Regions from separate parts of the Homo sapiens genome. Here regions 2 and 3 are each linked to region 1. Evidence: promoter capture Hi-C in 16 types of primary human blood cells and fetal thymus (Javierre and others, 2016). All regions are on one chromosome and are shown on one strand. The core of a region is centred on a gene start or on the middle of the fragment in contact, and the rest is flanking DNA. Distances in the headings are between cores, read along the strand shown.

Region 1 (2,964 bases), core at 231-2,730:
GATGATTCTGTGTGGGCTGTAAGTATTGAGTTTTTAACAACGCAGTAAAATGAATGTCTTTTAAAAACCTTAAAGGTCGGAGAATGTGCAGAAACCCGTGGGAACTCCTGGTGTGTACTTATAGAGTGCGTGCATGCAGGCGGGGTCGACTCACTATTTATTTCATAGCAATTTGATGATGATGATGATGACGGCAGCGACGACGATGAGGATAATGATAATAATAATAATGATTCATTTAACCCTTCCAAGGCGAATCCGAACCGAAGGGAGCCTGCTGCTCGCACCAGGCGGAGTGACCCAAGGCACATTCCCCGCTCCCCAAGAAGGAAAACTCTATGGTTCTTTCCCCAAGTTGTAGAAGATACTGCTGTCTTAGTGGGATCGCAGGCGGCTTTTGCTACACTCTAAATCCTAAATAAGTTCTCCATACCAAAAAAAGCGGCAGTTGGGGGATGGGGGGTGGGAGGTTGGGGGGGTGGGAGGGCTGGGAAGGGGAGTTCCGGGTGTAAAATGAAAACTTCCAGGATGTGCCTGAGTCCTAAAGTTTCAAACCACCTGGGAAAAGCGAGAGCCCCTGAGGCTTACCTGGTGATAAACTGTGTCAAACAAACTCAGGCCCTCCCCAGGTCCGCACAACATTTGCCCCAACAGCTCCTGAGCCTCCATCCTGTGTCCAACCAAATTCCCGGAGGACTTTTAAAGCAAATACCTGGACTCTTCGCCCAGATACACTATTTTAATTTTTAAAAATTTGGTCAATACAGTTACATTCAAAATGGGTTCTTACATGGGGATGTCCAATCACATTTTGAAAGTATTTGTAAACCCCATCACTTTTTCAAAGCTACACACTAACTATACAAAGCTGAAGCAGCTGCATAGGAAAGTCAAGTCAAATTTCGACCTAACTCTCCGGGGACTGGGGGGCAAGGGTGTGTTTTCATTATTATAACCCATGCAACCAACCCCGGGTAGTGCTAAGCGCAGGAAAAGGGTCGGCTTCAGGGGAAAGCCGTGCCTAAAGTTACCTAACGATACAAACCGGATACAACGCAGAGGAAACAGAATACCCCAGCCAAGCAATTTCCATGTCAAACATCATCCGCGCGGCTGCTCCATCTGTGAACGTGAGTGGTCGCCTGGCTCCCTCTTCCGCGGCGGCCGCTTCCTCATACCTTCACACGGCGCACACCGGCCGGCGCGTCCAGCTGCCTGCCCAGTGGCCGAGGCTCTTCCCCCTCGCCCAGTCTTGAGCTGGAAGTGATTCCTATTGGCCAAGGTGTCCATGTAAATAGGTGTGAAAGAAACCAGAGCTGGCCGGGCTCTCCCTTCTCGCTCAGTCCCCTCCCTCTGCAGCCCCCGCTCCCCCTCCTCTTCCTCCTCCTCCCAAGGCGATTGTCATATGATAGCTAAGAAGTGGCACATTAATGAAGCGCCGCTACAGGGGTCTTTTCTGCTCCTGTCACCGCTTAAAACTATCAGATGGTTCGAGGGAGGACATGGAGGCAGCCACCTAGCTCAGCGGAGACGCGGAGCCCACAGCAGCGCCCTCCGGAGCCCTAACACGTCGCTGCCACCATCCGCGCCGGGACTCCGCAGCCGAGCTCGGCCGCCCGCAGGACGCTCCAGGAGCGTCGCGGACCGGGCGGCACGGGACGCTGCGGGGCTGAGCTCAAGAGCCCAGGTTCGCGCCGAGTCCAACCGGACCCGGACGCTGCGCGCGGAGTGCGCGTCGAGTGCGCGCCGAGAGAGAAGCGGCGCGCAGCGGCGTCCTCCCGGATGCGGACGCGCAACTTGAAGCAACTTTAAGGTGAGCAGCTCTCTGTTCCGTCCCTGCCCCCTATTCTGGCCCCAGTACCGACTTACTTCCCGGCTATCCTCGCGCCGTTCGCCGGCTTCCCCTCCCGCGCCCACTAAGCCCGCAAAGTTGCTGGCGAAAGAGTCCGGGCGCTGGCTGATCGAGCGCCGCAGGCCCCACCCCCGACCCCCGAAGTCTGTTACTCGGTCTGGCTGACCCCGCCGGTGTCTCTGTGCATCCATGCTACCTTTCCCTATTACCCACCCCCTTCCCAGATCCGAGCAGTCCGCCGGCCCGCGCGGACCCAGAGCAAGAAGAGGGCGAGGAAGAAGATGCCTCGGCCCGGCCGCAACACGTACAGCGACCAGAAGCCGCCCTACTCGTACATCTCGCTGACCGCTATGGCCATCCAGAGCTCTCCCGAGAAGATGCTGCCGCTGAGCGAGATCTACAAGTTCATCATGGACCGCTTCCCCTACTACAGGGAGAACACGCAGCGCTGGCAGAACAGTCTGCGCCACAACCTCTCCTTCAACGACTGCTTCATCAAGATCCCGCGGCGGCCGGACCAGCCAGGCAAGGGCAGCTTCTGGGCGCTGCACCCAAGCTGCGGGGACATGTTCGAGAACGGCAGCTTCCTGCGGCGCCGCAAGCGCTTCAAGGTGCTTAAGTCCGACCACCTGGCGCCCAGCAAGCCAGCCGACGCGGCGCAGTACCTGCAGCAGCAGGCCAAGCTGCGGCTCAGCGCGCTGGCGGCCTCGGGCACGCACCTGCCACAGATGCCCGCCGCCGCCTACAACTTGGGCGGCGTGGCGCAGCCCTCGGGCTTCAAGCACCCCTTCGCCATCGAGAACATCATCGCGCGGGAATACAAGATGCCTGGGGGGCTGGCCTTCTCCGCCATGCAGCCGGTGCCCGCTGCCTACCCGCTCCCCAACCAGTTGACTACCATGGGCAGCTCGCTGGGCACCGGCTGGCCACACGTGTATGGCTCCGCCGGCATGATCGACTCGGCCACCCCCATCTCCATGGCGAGTGGCGACTACAGCGCCTACGGCGTGCCGTTGAAGCCGCTGTGCCACGCGGCGGGCCAAACGCTGCCCGCCATCCCCGTGCCCATTAAGCCCACGCCGGCCGCCGTGCCCGCGCTGCCTGCGCTGCCA
Region 2 (2,964 bases), core at 281-2,780, 230 kb before region 1:
CTTCTGTACTCCAGAGCTGATGTGAGGGTGACTGCATCTCCTGGGGAGTCGTGTTACAGAAATCTCTTCCTTATAACCAGCTTCTTCTGCATTCAGGTTTCTCTTTATGTTGTGAAGATCCATGCATTTGCATGGAATCTTCTTCTTCATCTGCCTCACCCCTTCTTCCTCAGCCCATAACAGGCCCTGGTGCACTGGACCTTATTGGTTGCGTTAAGGAGGGCTTACAGTGAAGAACATGATACTGTATGTCAAACTCTGCCAAAGGAGAGGAAACTGAACCCCCTGACATCTTCTAAGCCATGGAATTGACTACGCTAAGGAACAATGGAAATGGAATGTTATGGCAAAAGTAATTTGGCACTTGGGAAAGGTTACCATTGTTTTGAGAAGTGATCTGTTTGATGTGACTAAATGTTAGCTTTCACAAAGGATTAAAGACTATTTTATGCATTCCTGCTGTATGTACTATCGCACCAGACGCTGTGTGAGACACAACATAAATGACATGTTACTTGTTAGGTTGAAAAGAACTACTTTCTGTCTGGTTCAGCAGAATACATTATATTACTATTTTTGTTCAGTGAATTCAATGAACACACAGAGGGAACTGGTGGTTTTGGTACAATGCAGACTCTTTTATTTTTTCTCTTCTTTTCTTTTCTTTTTTGAGCCTCTGTTGCTCAGGCTGGAGTGCATGCTCATAGCTCACTGGGGGTTCGACCTCCTGGGTTCAAATGATCCTTCTGCATCAGCCTCCAGAGTAGCTGGGACTACAGGTACACACTACCATACCTGGCTTAATTTTTTTCTTGTTTGCCTACTGTATGCTTCTTAGAACTGTGTGTATCTGTGTGCAGGACTGCACACACACACACACACACACACAACGTAAACTTTCTGAGAATCTAAATGACAACAGAACTTTTCTGACATCTAGTTTCTCTGACAGCCAATAACTGAAACAGTCAGCTGCAATTTACCTGTACAACAGAGTTCTGACTGTTCATTGCTTTAATAGCCATTAGGACAGGCTGTTTTGCTTGAAAAAAATTAAATCTTTTGTTTAATATCTATGGAGTTTCTGCCTGGTGCATAGGGAGACCTAGTTTCCTGTGCCTGCAACAGTGCTGTTAACAGCTTCCACCCCACCCAATGGGCTCTGTAAAACACCTCATTCAACCTCTTCATTCTGACTCCATGGTGAATCTCTCCAGAGGGAATCTGAGCCACTCATATTTCTCTGTGCTGGTTCTAATTCCCTTTTGTTGCTGCCTTTCTATCACTCTGTTTGCATTGTCTTTTCGGTACATGACCGACACTTATTTTGGGATGTGGTTTCTCAGAAGCTCACTCCTTGCCCTACCAGATCAGGGTCTCAGAGCCAAATCAGAGACCCGAGCTTCTGACTACCTCAGAGAGGAAGATCAGACATCGACATGCATTTTAGTCCTCACTATGTCACACAGCCTACAAATGCGAAAATGGGTTTCCTACCATCTTCACATTTGCGTGAGACTTAATCATGCAAATGAAAGATCTGTTACATCCTAAAAGGACAACCTTTTAATTCTTTGAGGTTTGTGGAAGAATTATGAAAAACACAGTGCCCGTGATACCAAATGAAGAGGCTGGTGGGGAGCGGTGGCTCAAGCCTGCAATCCCAGCACTTTGGGAAGCTAAGGCGGGTGAATCACCTGAGGTCAGGCGTTCGAGACCAGTCTAGCCAACATGGTGAAAACTGTCTCTACTAAAAATGCAAAAATTAGCCAGGCATGGTGGTGTGCACCATAATCCCAGCTACTTGGGGGGCTGAGGCAGGAGAATCGCTTGAACCCAGAGGCGGAGGTTGCAGTGAGCTGAGATCATGCCACTGTACTCCAGACTGGGTGACAGAGTGAGACTTTGTCTCAAAACAGAAACAAAAACAAAAACAAATGAACAGGATGGAATCTCACTGTAGACACATGCTGAAATACAAGGACCTGGGGTTCAAGCGGAAAGGGAAGTGAAAGTTTTTCTCCCTATTTGCCCCGTTTGGCCAGTCATCCTTTTAGTGATATTTTCCATTTAAAGTATATACAGGAAAAGCCACCAGGAAGAAAATAGAAGCAGGGCCATTTTCTTTAGCAATTTTAGCAATCAGGAAAATCAAGCCTTAACTCTCAAGTACACACCTCCTCTGCCTTGTTTAGAGGTTCTCCTAGCGGCTGTGTCATTCCCTCTCACCTTGCTGGTTTCCTTGGTATTGCTTGCTGCAGAGGCATGAAAAGTAGAAGGCCCACATGGCCCTATCTCTTCCAGTAAATATCTGACAAATCACTGGGGTTAGGATGTATGACCAACAGTTTGTTGTGAGGATTAAAGGAAACAGTTATGTGAAAAACACCCAGCACATTAACTGCCAAATAGTGAGACTCAATACATTCTACCTGTTTGTTTATGTATGGATTTGTTTATTTGCTTGTACATGTATATGCCTACCATGATTCCAGAGAGGATTTAAGGCAGCTTACCAAAATAATCACAGAGTCTAATGTGATATAAGATTCTGAGCGCTAGAGTTAAAATACAGAGAAGATTCTCTCTATGTTTTTCCCACATCTTACCATTCAGCACCACCAATTTCTGCTCATAAATGCGTCTTGCAAGGCATTTTCTATTTAAGTTAATATGTCTGTGTTTACAAGAACGGCCCTGAGAGAAGCCATCTGCACATTGCATAAAAGTTCCAAACAGAACCCCATTGACTCTGTCACTATTCCTGGGATTTAGGTCCTCAGAGACAATTAACACCACCATGGAGAAGGCAGACTCCATAAATATTAAGAGATCACCAAAGTATACCTGTGTCCAACCAGACAGTATATGCCAAATAGAATATAAGTATTGAGATAATCCAAGCCATGTGTCTGAGAACGAAATCAGGTGTAGGAAGCAGTACTTCCAGACATATGAGCTGGG
Region 3 (2,964 bases), core at 287-2,786, 170 kb after region 1:
TACACAAGATTTATACACTTCTGACCACAAATGGGCCTCCACATACCTTCATTTTCTTGTGCCATGCACATGAAAGAGAAGGGAAAGAAAGATTTTTTTTCCCCTTTGGTTTGCCTGGACATGGCACGAGGAAACATGAGCATTAGTGATGTCTAGCTTTCTCAGTTCTTGGCCTTTGAGGGCAAACAAGGCTCCTTTCCAGGTAGACACTGACCAAAGGCCTTAAAGCATGAGTGTCTCAGTTTGTTTTGGCTGCTATGACAAAATACCTTAAACTGGGTAATTTACAAATAATAGAAATTAATTGTCACAGTTCTGCAGGCTGGAAAGTCCAAGATCAGCATGCTGGCAGATTCAATGTCTGATGAGTCCTCCCCCTTTGCTCCATAGATGGCACCATGTCGCTGCATCCTCACATGGCAGAAAGCATGAACAGCTCCCTAGCACCTCTTTTATAAGGTCACTAATCCCATTTATGTGGGCTCTGACCTCATGACTTAATCACCCCTTAATACTATCACATTGGCAAGTAAGTTTCAACATATGAATTTTGGGGTCGCACTCAGACCACGGCAATGGGAAAATTAATATTTGTTTTCATATAACAGGGCATTTGATTCTCCTCTCTGCCATTAGCATGCAACAAGCCATGTAACCTTCCAGGTTTACAGAAGGCAAACCTCAACCACTGACTCCTCCTGGGTGCTTTTTGATCCAGTAGTCTGTATGGCCTACAGGTAGACCGCTTCCTTCAATCACTGCTTGAGGAATCACTGGAGGAGGAGTCTTATTGCGATGAGAGACTGTCTGGGTCCCATGTTGTCAGGGGCAGGCCCAAGAGACAGAGAGTTGTAGGATGGGCATATAGAAGTAGGGCAGTTGCTAATAATTGTCTTAATAAGTTATTCTAGATTTGCCAGGCCTGCACCTCAGCAGTTGCAAGCCACTTTTACTTCTGGGGTATATTTTTTCTTTTAAATTATTTTTATAGTTTCTTAAATTAAAAAATTATAAGCTCATTATAAAATAGCACCTGAAGCACACAAATTAAAAGTAAGAATTTTTTTGATTTTTGAGGCAGGGTCTCAGTCTTTCACCCAAGATGGAGTGTGCAGTGGCACATTCACAGCTCACTGCAGCCTTCACCTCCCAGGCTCGAGCAACCCTTCCACCTCAGTCTCCTGCATAGCTGGGACTAAACGCATGTGCCACCATGCCTGGCTAATTTTATTTATTTTTTGGAGAGACAGGGTTTCCCTATGTTGTCCAGGCTGGTCTTGAACTGGGCTTAAGCAATCCTCTGGCCTCAGCCTCCAAAAGTGCTGGGATTATAGCATGAGCCACCATGCCCAGCCTAAAAGTAAGAATGTCTAAGTTTCTTTCCCCAATCATCCCATTCCTTCACAGTTAACACTTTTGCTCCCAGCATTCTTTACAAATTCTGCTTCTGAAACCTGTGTTACTCTGAATTTGTCCATTGTCTTTTACTGCCCTGGCCTCTAACTTTGGATACACCCTTAACTTGATGTCTGCCACAGGACCTTGAGTTAGGTTCCCATTCACAACAGCTTGGCCTTGACAGCTTCAGTTCAGCCACTTGCCATGTTTAAGCTGGGTTTTCTCCAATTTAAATACTTTCATTTTTTAAAGAGCTGCCTGGCCTTCCTCTCATCAGCTATAGAAGAGATTTAGTGGTGGTGGTTTTACAAGCTAAAATACAATCAAGAAGTTGTGAATAAGACATTCTAGCCTAGAAGGAATGAATGGTATCTCCTAAACTCTAAGGAAATATTGATTACAGTATTTAATCATGGAGAGTATGGAAGAAAATAACAAAATACTATATTAAGCATATTTATGAACTGTAACATGATTTTATGAACTATAAAACATTAACTTCATTTTCTTAAGGTACACTTTTGAGTCAAGAGGATATGATACTTTCACTCATTCACTTTTCACATTGTGAACTGAGATCCCTACATACCTCTCCCCCTTCTTTTGACATCGTCTGCCCTAATATGTTCTCTTAGGTAACTGTGATGTTAAAAGATAAATAGCCTCAAATACTGGATGTCTAATGTGAACATGAGTTGGGACATGAATTAGTCTAAATCATCTGGACATTTTGCACTGGCACACCCACCTTTGCTAACAAAAGTTTGTCTGGGATGATTTTCCCATTAGGAATCCTGCCCATGGCCCTTTAAAAATAAATCATACCTGTAGAAGATCCTTCTTTCCATGGTTATGGCAGAAAGCATGGGTCTTAGTTCCAAGTCTAGAATTAGATGACATGGATAGAATCTAGAAATACCAAGGCTGGGTAAAGAACATAAAACTGAGAGTGATCTCTTGTTTCAGGATGAGGTTCCCAAATGAGGTTATGTGATGAGACAACCACTCATATAGCAACAGGCATCACACAGACCACTTCTTAATATCTCTTCACCAGTCAACTGACATTCCTCCAACAGAGTTGTAAGGGCCGATCTATATGAGATGGTCAAGCAACAAGGCTGGCCTGATGAATGAGTGCAATTTGAGACCTTCCAGGTATCATGAACCCACCCACTCCATTATGACATCTAAAATTCTCCTACCATAAATTAATTTATTTGCATTTACGAGTCCCCGTTGAGTCACTAGGAAAAGCAGTAACTTAAGCTGTTGTCATTTAACTAAAGCATGCTTTGAAAGCTACCAGTACCCAAGGTTGAGGAATATAAAGGAAATACAAAGTAGGTGAAAATGGACATTTAAAGGGAAGTTAAGTTGTCAAAACCAAATTGCAGTCTTTTCTTTATTTTGCTTATGGTTTGCCCTCTTTTGGAAAATTTTCTTCCAAGCAGCGGAAAACCCTCAGAATGAAAAATGATGCACTGTAAGGAACCTGAAAGAGGATTAATTCTAAGCAGATACTTACATACTTTTGAACCAAAAGGAGAAGTATTTATGGATTCT

Evidence for each region. Contacts are between HindIII fragments. The CHiCAGO score rates a contact against its expected background, and 5 or more counts as called.
Region 2: a fragment that was not itself captured here is called in contact with the fragment with the promoter of FOXB1 in region 1 in 1 of 17 cell types (non-activated CD4 T cells); the score reaches 5.4 in non-activated CD4 T cells.
Region 3: a fragment that was not itself captured here is called in contact with the fragment with the promoter of FOXB1 in region 1 in 1 of 17 cell types (activated CD4 T cells); the score reaches 5.4 in activated CD4 T cells.

What each region holds. Positions count from the first base shown.
Region 1 is chr15:60,002,831-60,005,794 of GRCh38, forward strand. FOXB1 (forkhead box B1) reads left to right here and starts at 1,481. Exons shown (of 2, transcript NM_012182.3): 1 at 1,481-1,813; 2 at 2,077-2,964. The coding sequence starts at 2,134. RefSeq lists an enhancer at 1,162-1,677. The HindIII fragment of the contact is 10,028 bases long and covers 1-2,964 here.
Region 2 is chr15:59,771,822-59,774,785 of GRCh38, forward strand. No RefSeq gene overlaps it. Among named protein-coding and RNA genes, the nearest start is that of BNIP2, 84 kb to the left of the region's middle. The HindIII fragment of the contact is 5,162 bases long and covers 1-2,964 here.
Region 3 is chr15:60,169,023-60,171,986 of GRCh38, forward strand. All of the region lies in intron 1 of LOC105370839 (a long non-coding RNA gene), which reads left to right. Among named protein-coding and RNA genes, the nearest start is that of FOXB1, 170 kb to the left of the region's middle. The HindIII fragment of the contact is 4,724 bases long and covers 1-2,964 here.